Linked DNA regions of Homo sapiens: regions 2 and 3 are each linked to region 1. The links are contacts of gene promoters, found by promoter capture Hi-C in blood cells and fetal thymus (Javierre and others, 2016). All regions are on one chromosome and are shown on one strand. The core of a region is centred on a gene start or on the middle of the fragment in contact, and the rest is flanking DNA. Distances in the headings are between cores, read along the strand shown. Region 1 holds the start of HINT1 (histidine triad nucleotide binding protein 1). Region 2 overlaps CDC42SE2 (CDC42 small effector 2). Region 3 overlaps CDC42SE2 (CDC42 small effector 2).

Region 1 (2,996 bases), core at 153-2,652:
TTGTCTCAGGAGTAATTCTACTGGGTACTCCCTACAAAATGCTGATTCATTTAGAATGCTTCCTGCCGTTCTACAGTTGGACTTCGGTGGTTCAAATGTAAATTTTTCAAGAACCATTTCTCAAAGGCAACTGCGAACTTTAAAAAGAAATATTTTTTCTAAAACCAAAGAATTTCCCCTGAGTAGAGACAAAGTATTTTTTTTTTTAATTTACCTAGAGGAACCTAATTAAATTTTTGATAACGTTTTGAATCTAACCGACATTAGTAGAATAAATGTTTTTCTTAGATTTTATATTTCCTAAATTTAACAAAACTGTTTACAAAATTTGTTCTATCTAAATCAGCCAATCTGCCCAGCTTTATCTGAGATCCAATCCCAAAAATACAACTGGCCACTAAATAATTTACACAAGATATCTCAAAGTCACATCAACTGGGATTTCACCTACAAGAAGTCAACAAAAACTACAGTCTTAGTCTCTTGGCATAAAATTACTTCCTGTTGAATACAAAAAGAATCATTCAGCTGTTTGTAAGTCCAAAATGTTCAGCGGGAGAGGTCAACGGAAAGCAAATCCCAGACGCGGGCCCACTTCTTATCTCAGGAGATCGCCTCGCTAGCCCAGGGTAGGCCTTGGGGTGGAGATAGGGATAGGGGTAGGGGTGAGGGTGGCAAGCCGCACCCCGCGGAGGAAGCCGGCAGGCCCAGACGGCCCGCGCACCTCCCAGCGCCCCTGGGGCCCTCGAGCACAATGCCTTGCTGAGCAGCGCCCAGGAACGCCGGGCCCTGGCAGGCCGGCTGTGCGCGGGAGATCGCGGAGATTGGGCCTGAGTCAGGGCGCGATCGGGTTTCTCTCTGTCAGGCAGAGCGCTGGCGAGATTTCGAGATTCCTGATACAGGCAAGGTCCGAGGCAGCCGGGGAACCGGCGGGCTTCCACGCGGGGGCCCCAGTGCGCCCCGACACGCGCCCAGGCCCCGCGGTGCGGCACTCAGGGCGCCCGGCGGCCTGGCCCGCGCCCGGGGCAGATAACGAGTAACCGGAGCGCCGGCACGCGCCGGCAGGCCGCCTCGGAGTGCCCGGGCCCTGTCCGCTGGCTGGGGGCCCGCTGGACCAGGGCAGCCAGGTCCCCTCCCGTCGCCGCTACACTCGCGACCCCTCCTCTCCCTCCGCGAGAAACCCGAGGATCCGCGGACGATACCCACCTCAGCAGGCGAGAGAGGTGGTGCCCAGTACCTACCCGGTCATCCTCAAAAATGATTTTGGCTGGTATTTCCTTGCGGATGATCTTCCCAAAGATCGTGTCGCCACCAGGCCGAGCGACCTGAGCCTTGGCAATCTCATCTGCCATCTCGGCCTCTCTCCCGCGCGGCGGCCAGAGGAGAGGCTCGGAAGAAGGGAGGAACCCGCAGAGCGTGCGGCGCGAGAGGGCGCAGCCAAGCCTGCGCAGGTGCCCCGGCTCTGGCGCCCCACCTAATCTTGCGCGTGCGCACTGGCGACCTGGGCTGCGAGTGCGGCCAGCGCGCTAGAGCGCCTCAGGGACCTCCGGCTTGGGGAAGTTCCTGGTCTTGAGCTCCAAGGAGATTCCTAAGTCGTTTTTCTATCCTCCTTTCTTGTCTCCTGGGGAATGCAGTTACTGGTATAAACCCTTCGTCTGCCTATGGATGCTTGTAGGGAAAGTTGGATACTGTAACTGACAAGATTTGATAATTTAAGTGGTGCTGGCTGCAACTTAGCACTTAGATTATTTAAGGTCTTGCTGCTGCAGCAGATTTTAAGTCCTCTCTTCAACAGAGTTTTTTTCTCTCTCTACCAGTGGTTCTCAATCTTGACTACACATTAAGATCACTTGGGGAGCTTTTAAAAATCCCCGTGAACCTGGCTGCAGCCCAGATCCATTAAATAAGAATCTTTGGAGATGAGCCCCAGGCATCAGTAGTTTGTAAACCTCCCTAGACTGCTCTGCAAAGAATTTTTCCCAGCAGCAATCAACATAATGTATTAATAAAATGACCCACTTTAAAAAAAAAAACCTTCCTTAATCCCACATCCCCCTCCGTATCTTTGCTCGTTTTATAAAGAAGTTTTCTACATACCATGTCTGCTTTCTTATCTTTCATTTTTGAGTCCATTTCCCTCTTGTCAAGGTCACTAAGGACATCCATTTATAAAATCCTATAGACAATTACAGTTATCATACCAGACCTCTAAGTGTACGTATTAAGAAAAAGTATACCTCCTCAATGCCTTTTTTTTTTTTAGATAGATTCTTGCTCTGTCGCCCAGGCTCGACTGCAGTGGCACAATCTCGGCTCATTGCAACCTCTGCCTCCCGAGTTCGAGTGATTCTCATGCCTCAGCCTCCCAAGTAGCTAGGACTACAGGCGCGCACCACCACACCTGGCTAATTTTTGTATTTTTAGTAGAGACAGGGTTTCCCCATGCTGGCCAGGCTGTTCTCAAACTTCTGACCTCAGGTGTTCCACCCGCCTCAGCCTCCCAAAGTGCTGGGATTACAGATGTGAGCTCAGCTGCCTTTTATGATTACATTACTACCCTTGTCTTGGCAAAATTATTGAATGTGGTTGCCTTTAATCTCAAAAGTGTCCATTTGGTACTTTTGCTATCAAAGACATTACTGGGACAATTCGTAAAATCTAAATAATGCCTATAAATTAGATAATAGTTTTGAAGTCATGTTAATTTCCTTTCATAACCACAGAAAAATTGTCAAAATCAGTTGATCTGGGGTGGGGCCCTACAAGTTAGGTTTCTAACTTTCCAGGTGATACAGTTGCTGCTGGCCCGGGAACCATACTTTAAGAACTACTGATACAAGGGAATGTCTTTGTAGGAAAAACCCACTGAAGTATTTAAGGCTATGGGTATCATGTCCGCAACTTACTTTCAAATAGTTCAGAGAAAAAGTGTCTGTCTATAGGTAATTAGAGAAATAGAAAAGGATAAAGCAATTACAATAAAATGTTAACATTTG
Region 2 (2,996 bases), core at 306-2,805, 190 kb after region 1:
AGGCTAAGGCAGGAGGATCACCTGAGCTCAGAAAGTCAAGGCTGCAGTGATCTGTGATCATGCCACTGCATTCCAGCCTGGGCAACACAGTGAGACCCTATCTGAAAAAAAATTTTTTTTTTAATTTCACAAAGGCTTCTTAATGGGCAAGATTTTTGATCCAGGGTGAAATTAAACTTATTAAATAGCAGCACTGAAATAATGTTCATGAGACTGTATATTTAAGCCTTTTCTCTTATATTCCTGCTAAGAGGATTGGATGGAGGAAATAAGTGATACTATTCTTTGAGCTTATAAAACTTCACAGTATTTACCCAATTCATTGGCCAAAGACTGCCACTTCCTTGATTTAGAGTTTGGGTAAGATAAGGAATGTTCATCTCTGCTTAAATAAACATTCCAGGTTCTGAATTTTAATTAATGGCAAAAATGTAAACTTTTCTTTCTTTTGATATTCCTTGGATGTATGCTTAAATCTTAACATGTTATTTTCCTGTATGTTAGAGGACTTGTCCTCTGGACTGTAGAATCAGGGTCCTGAATTCATGCCTTGTTATACTACCCAGATTTGTGACACTGAGGGTGTGTGCCTTAACTTTACATTACATCTTTATCTGTACAGCTACAAAAATCACCGTCACTTCTGTCTTTCCAGGTTTAGAGTCGTGGCTTTGGAAAAAGCAAAAGGGAGGAATTTAATTTCACTTAATGTTCAGGACTCTGTGATCCTGTAATGTGGTTGTTACTGATCTATAGTTGGCAAAGCTTATAAATGTGTGAGGTCTCTTTCCAGAATTTACAAATAAGTGATTTATATTTCGCCATTTGGGACAAAAATGTTAACATCTCTTTGAACACAGTCAAATTGATACATCTTTAGTCTTTGATCTTTTCATTTCAAGGAAGGCTCATTTTCTTCATTCTACCACTCTACTTTTTAAACTTTATATCCATTTTTCTTGCAAACATTGTCTACACTTGTTGACTCTGCTGCTTTCCTTTCACTCACTTAACCTCCTGTAATCTGATGTCTACCCACACTACTTTACTGAAACTGCTGTTGCCAGCGCCACACTGTGTTTGCTGCACAGTCTAAGGAATAGTCCTCAGTCTTTCCTATCTCAGTGGCAGTTAATACTGCCACCCACTTTCTCCTTGAAACAGGCTCCAGTGACACCACATTTAACGGATTTTCCTCTTCTAATTCTGGTAACACCCAAACCTCCTTAGTAGACTTCTCTTTTTCTACCTATGATTTAAATGCTGTTCTTACTCAGAGGACTCTGTTGAGCACACTTTGCTTGTCATGATACCGTTTTGCCTAGAGATCATTCATTGCTTTAGTCATAATCTGATGATTGCAAAACTTCTCCTTGGCTTCAGATTTATATATCAAACTGTCTATTGGACATCTTAACTTGACTATTGTAGTAGTCTGCAAGTGATATAAACCCACTTCATCATAACTTCAGGCTAAAGAGGGAGATATGTTGCCTTACAAAACCAAACGTCTGGTGCACAGGTGAAACTGATCTTAGGGATGCCTAGAATCAGAGATTGATGTCATCTTGACTTCCCACTTCTCTTTTGCCGCTGCTTGTCAGCATTATTACCTCAAAACCATCTTCCACATGAGGTATAGGATATTATTGACTAAGGACATCCTTAAAGTCAACAGCTTGGCAGTCAGAAATAAAAAATAGGTTTAACTCTTTGTCCAACTGCAGATAGAACATTGCCTGACAAGGATTCTGATAGACTCAGCTTGGTTTGCCACAGTGGGATGTAGAGTATTTTGACTAACATGCGTTCTAGTAATGATGGTAGGAGTGGTGGGAGTGGTAGGGATCTAATAGCTCGATTCACAGAAGAAAGCCAACTTAACCTCTACCCATTTTTCATGTACAGCTCTAATTCCAGTGGATAAGGTAATAAGTTTGTTTATGGTTTTTGATGAACTGCACCTGCTTGATTATCTCCTTAGAATTCATTGCTGTGTCAATTACTGTCTGAGTTGTCTGTGAGAATAAAGGACTCAACTGAAGAAACCTATATGAAAATGGTGATCATTATTTCTTCTTGGAATTAGAAACTTGTATGTGGCAGTCATAATGTTCTAATTAGTGATTTTTAAAAATTAACTCATTAAAATAATCCATACTTTTATAATCATAAAATAGGATGCCCCACGAAGGCAAAGATTTCTGTCTGCTTTTACTACTACACCTAGAACTTGACACTTAAAAAGTTGCTCAAAAAATAATTTGTTGAATCAATATCAGTTTGTTAAAATCTTGATTTTTTTTCAGTGTTTACTTTTTTTGGTAATATTTATTTTAAGAAATAAAAGCTTTCAAGGATAAGTAAAGTTTAACTTTTTTTTACTTTTTCTTTTTTTTCCCTAGACTATCTGTTATAGTCCCTGGGTCAAGACAACAATTTTTATACCTTCGTCGTGGTTCAGAAAGGAGTCTCTGTAGAACCAGAAGCAAAGAAAGGAAACAATCCAAATTTTTCTTTATTAAATCGACTGTGTAAGATACTTGACTTCCAGGAACAAAAACACGGTGAAATAATAAAATTTCATCTTGGCATCACTGGACATCATCGTATTGAGGAGCGTATTTTTGGAACTTCCCGAGTTGAGATTTGGAACCTTCATTGGTGCTCATTTACTGTGGACTGTAAGCATGAGTGAATTCTGGTTGTGTTTCAACTGCTGTATTGCAGAACAGCCTCAGCCTGTAAGTATGAAGTATGTGGACACATCAGGTGGGGTGCTTATTAAACTTTCCACTGGTTCTCAAACTGAGGATTGGGATCCTAGCAGTAATTGCAAAGCAGTTGTAGAGAATACCACAGAGAATAGTTCAGTGGAACTCCGAACATATGTTTAAAAAGAAATAATGTTTTTAAAGTAAATACTGTATGTCAAGAACTCTCCTAGACCATTCATCGTACATGACTGAGAGGAGGTGTTCTTCTGTCAAATAGCT
Region 3 (2,996 bases), core at 226-2,725, 180 kb after region 1:
GGCTGAGGCAGGAGAATTGCTTGAACCCAGGAGGTGGAGGTTGCAGTGAGCCAAGATTGTACCACTGCACTCTAGCCTGAATGACAGAGCAAGACCCCATCTCAAAAAAAAAAAAAAGAGAGAGAAAATTATGATCATTGAACTAAAAGAGTCATGGAGAAAATTAATAGGTGGGTTAAATAGCAGAATAGAAACAGGTAAAAGTCCTAAATATATAAAAATGAATCTGAAACTAGAGATTCTGTGAAATCAGAGCCAAGTACGAAGACAATCTTCAAAACACCTATCACAAAAAAAGAATTTTGTATTCAAATGACCAAGAATTAGATTGATAGTCTACTTTTCATCAGCAACAATAGAGGTCTTCTGCAAAGAACTGAAGGAAAAGCACTGTCAACCAAGAATTCTATACTTCGCTAAACTGTCGTGCAAGAATAAAGGAAAAAATACAGTAGTCCCATTTTATTCGTGGTTTTGCTTTCTTTGGTTTCAGTTTTTGGCCAACTGTGGTCCAAAAATATTAAATGGAAATTTTTAGAAATAATTCATAACTCTTAAATTGCAGCCATTTTGAGTAGCATGATGAAATTTTGAACCGTCATGCTGTGTCTCATCTGGAACATGTATCATCCCTTTGTGCAGTGTATCTACTCTATATGCTACCCGTCGGTTAATGTGTAGGCAGAAACATAATTTATGTAGAGTTTGGTAATATTTATGGTTTCAGGCATACACTGAGGGCCTTGGAGCATTATCTTTCATGGTTAAGAGGGAACTACTGTATAGATATTCTTTTAACAGCGTATCTGGGTGAAGGATACATGGGAGATTTCTGTTCTGTATTAGTAACTCGGCTGTAAGTTTGAAATTATTCCAAAATTACAATTAAAAACTGCAGTCTTAGACAAACAACTGAGAAGCTTACCACCTTCTCAGTTAACCATTAAAGAGCACATATTACTGAAAAATTGTTTGAGTATCTTTTTTTTTTTTTCCAAGACAGAGTGTCACTCTGTCATCCAGGCTGGAGTGCAGTGGCATGATCTTAGTCCATTGCAGCCTCCAGGTGCAAGCGATTCTTGTGCCTCAGCCTCCCAAATAGCTGGAATTACAGGCATGTACCACCATGTCTGGTTAATTTTTGTCTTTTTAGTAGAGTCGGGTTTGACCATGTTGGCCAGGCTGGTCTCGAACTCCTGATCTCAAGTGATCTGCCTGCCGTAGCCTCCCAAAGTGCTGGTATTACAGGCACGAACCACCATGCGTGGCCTGAGTATGTACTTTCTGAAGAAGGAAGTTGAACTTCAAAGGAAGGATTGAGAGGCAAGAAGCAATAATCAAATCAATTGGCAAATTTGGAAAAATATTAATCATCAGCATCATTGTGTACTTACTGTATACTAAGTGTTTTGTTTAATTTTCACAATAGTCCCATGGTATAGGTACTATTATTTTCCTGGACAACATTTTCCAGTTTGAAAGAGGTCATTCAGACCCCAGTACAATGATGAAAAAGGACCAAACCAAGTAACATCTCTGTGGCATTTGAGAATTCCAAGAGTTAAGGAAAAAAATGTTTAACTCTTCTAGAAGGGAAATACATCACACACAAAGGAAGGAAAATTGGAATGTCATCAGACTTCTCACAACCCTGGAAGTTAGCAGATACTGAAATAGTGTCTTTAAAATCCTGAGGGAAAGATTTTTGTCTTGGTATTCTATATTCAACTAAACGATCAATCAAATATCAAATGTAAGGAATTAAAACATTTTCATTCTGTGTCCCACTTCTTAGGAAGCCAGGGGAGTATGTGTATGATTTTACAACATAAGTGAGAAGGATGAGAAGAGGAAGACATGATTCACAGAAACAGAACATACCAACTTAGAGCAGTTAGGATTGAAGCAAGAGGCTAGGAAGAAACCAAAAGAATATTTGAATCAGTACATCTATTAATATGTTCAGGTATTTGGAAATTACAGGTGTTTTACAGATCTGATATAGGTACATAAAAAAACTAAGCAATTAAAAAAGCTTAGCAGTTATTCAGAGAAAACAAAAGATTATTTAAGAAAAGATAGGACGGCTGAGGTAGGAGAATCGTTTGAACCCAGGAGGTGGAGGTTGCAGTGAGCTGAGATTGTTCCACTGAACTCCAGCCTGGGCAACAGAGCAAGACTCTTGTCTCAATAAAAAAAAAAAAAGATAGCTAATTATACCAAGTAGTCTAAAAATTGATAATTTGAGAAGTAGCAATGGGCATCTTACTTACAATTATAAAAGTTAATACCACGCTGGGCACGGTGGCTCATGCCTGTAATCCCAGCCCTTTGGGAGGCTGAGGTGGGCAGATCAGGAGGTCAGGAGATCGAGACCATCCTGGCCAACATGGTGATACCCCATCTCTACCAAAAATACAAAAATTAGCTGGGTGTCGTGGTGCATGCCTGTAATCCCAGCTACTCGGGAGGCTGAGGCAGGATAATCACTTGAACTGGGGGGGTGGAGGTTGCAGTGAGTTGAGATTGTGCCACTGCACTCCAGCCTGGTGACAGAGTAAGACTCCTTCTCAAAAAAAAAAAAAAAAGGTAAATACCAGAAGAAGCAGCTTGGTAAGTTAAAAACAGTTCCCACTAAGAGATGGAGAGGCACAGGTCAGAGATTTGCCATTTTTAATAGTCTTTTTTTTTTTTTTTTTTTAAGATAGGGTCTCACTTTGTCACTGGGCTGGAGTGCAGTGGCGCCGATCTCAGCCCACTGCAACCTCCGCCTCTCAGGTTCAAGTGATTCTCCTGCCTCTGCCTCCCGAGTAGCTGGGATACAGGCGCCCGCCACTATGCCCAGCTAACTTTTTGTATTTTTAGTAGAGATGGGATTTCACCATATTGGCCAGGCTGGTCTTGAACTCCTGACCTTGTGATTTGCCCGCCTCAGCCTCCCAAAGTGCTGGGATTGCAGGTGTGAGCCACTGCACCTGGTTAATAGTCTTTTATTA

Evidence for each region. Contacts are between HindIII fragments. The CHiCAGO score rates a contact against its expected background, and 5 or more counts as called.
Region 2: a fragment that was not itself captured here is called in contact with the fragment with the promoter of HINT1 in region 1 in 15 of 17 cell types (naive CD4 T cells, non-activated CD4 T cells, total CD8 T cells and 12 more); the score reaches 23.5 in naive CD4 T cells.
Region 3: a fragment that was not itself captured here is called in contact with the fragment with the promoter of HINT1 in region 1 in 11 of 17 cell types (total CD8 T cells, naive CD4 T cells, non-activated CD4 T cells and 8 more); the score reaches 14.8 in total CD8 T cells.

The regions. Positions count from the first base shown.
Region 1 is chr5:131,163,854-131,166,849 of GRCh38, forward strand. HINT1 (histidine triad nucleotide binding protein 1) reads right to left here and starts at 1,403. Exons shown (of 3, transcript NM_005340.7): 1 at 1,242-1,403. The coding sequence starts at 1,352. RefSeq lists enhancers at 132-792, 793-1,452, 1,723-1,772 and silencers at 583-1,222, 1,433-1,512, 1,523-1,572. The HindIII fragment of the contact is 11,885 bases long and covers 1-2,996 here.
Region 2 is chr5:131,356,804-131,359,799 of GRCh38, forward strand. It overlaps CDC42SE2 (CDC42 small effector 2), which reads left to right. Exons shown (of 5, transcript NM_001375635.1): 3 at 2,406-2,744. The coding sequence starts at 2,691. Among named protein-coding and RNA genes, the nearest start is that of CDC42SE2, 94 kb to the left of the region's middle. RefSeq lists enhancers at 930-979, 1,070-1,149, 1,170-1,219, 1,240-1,329. The HindIII fragment of the contact is 1,585 bases long and covers 764-2,348 here.
Region 3 is chr5:131,339,707-131,342,702 of GRCh38, forward strand. The region is part of intron 2 of CDC42SE2 (CDC42 small effector 2); the gene reads left to right. Among named protein-coding and RNA genes, the nearest start is that of CDC42SE2, 77 kb to the left of the region's middle. The HindIII fragment of the contact is 1,115 bases long and covers 919-2,033 here.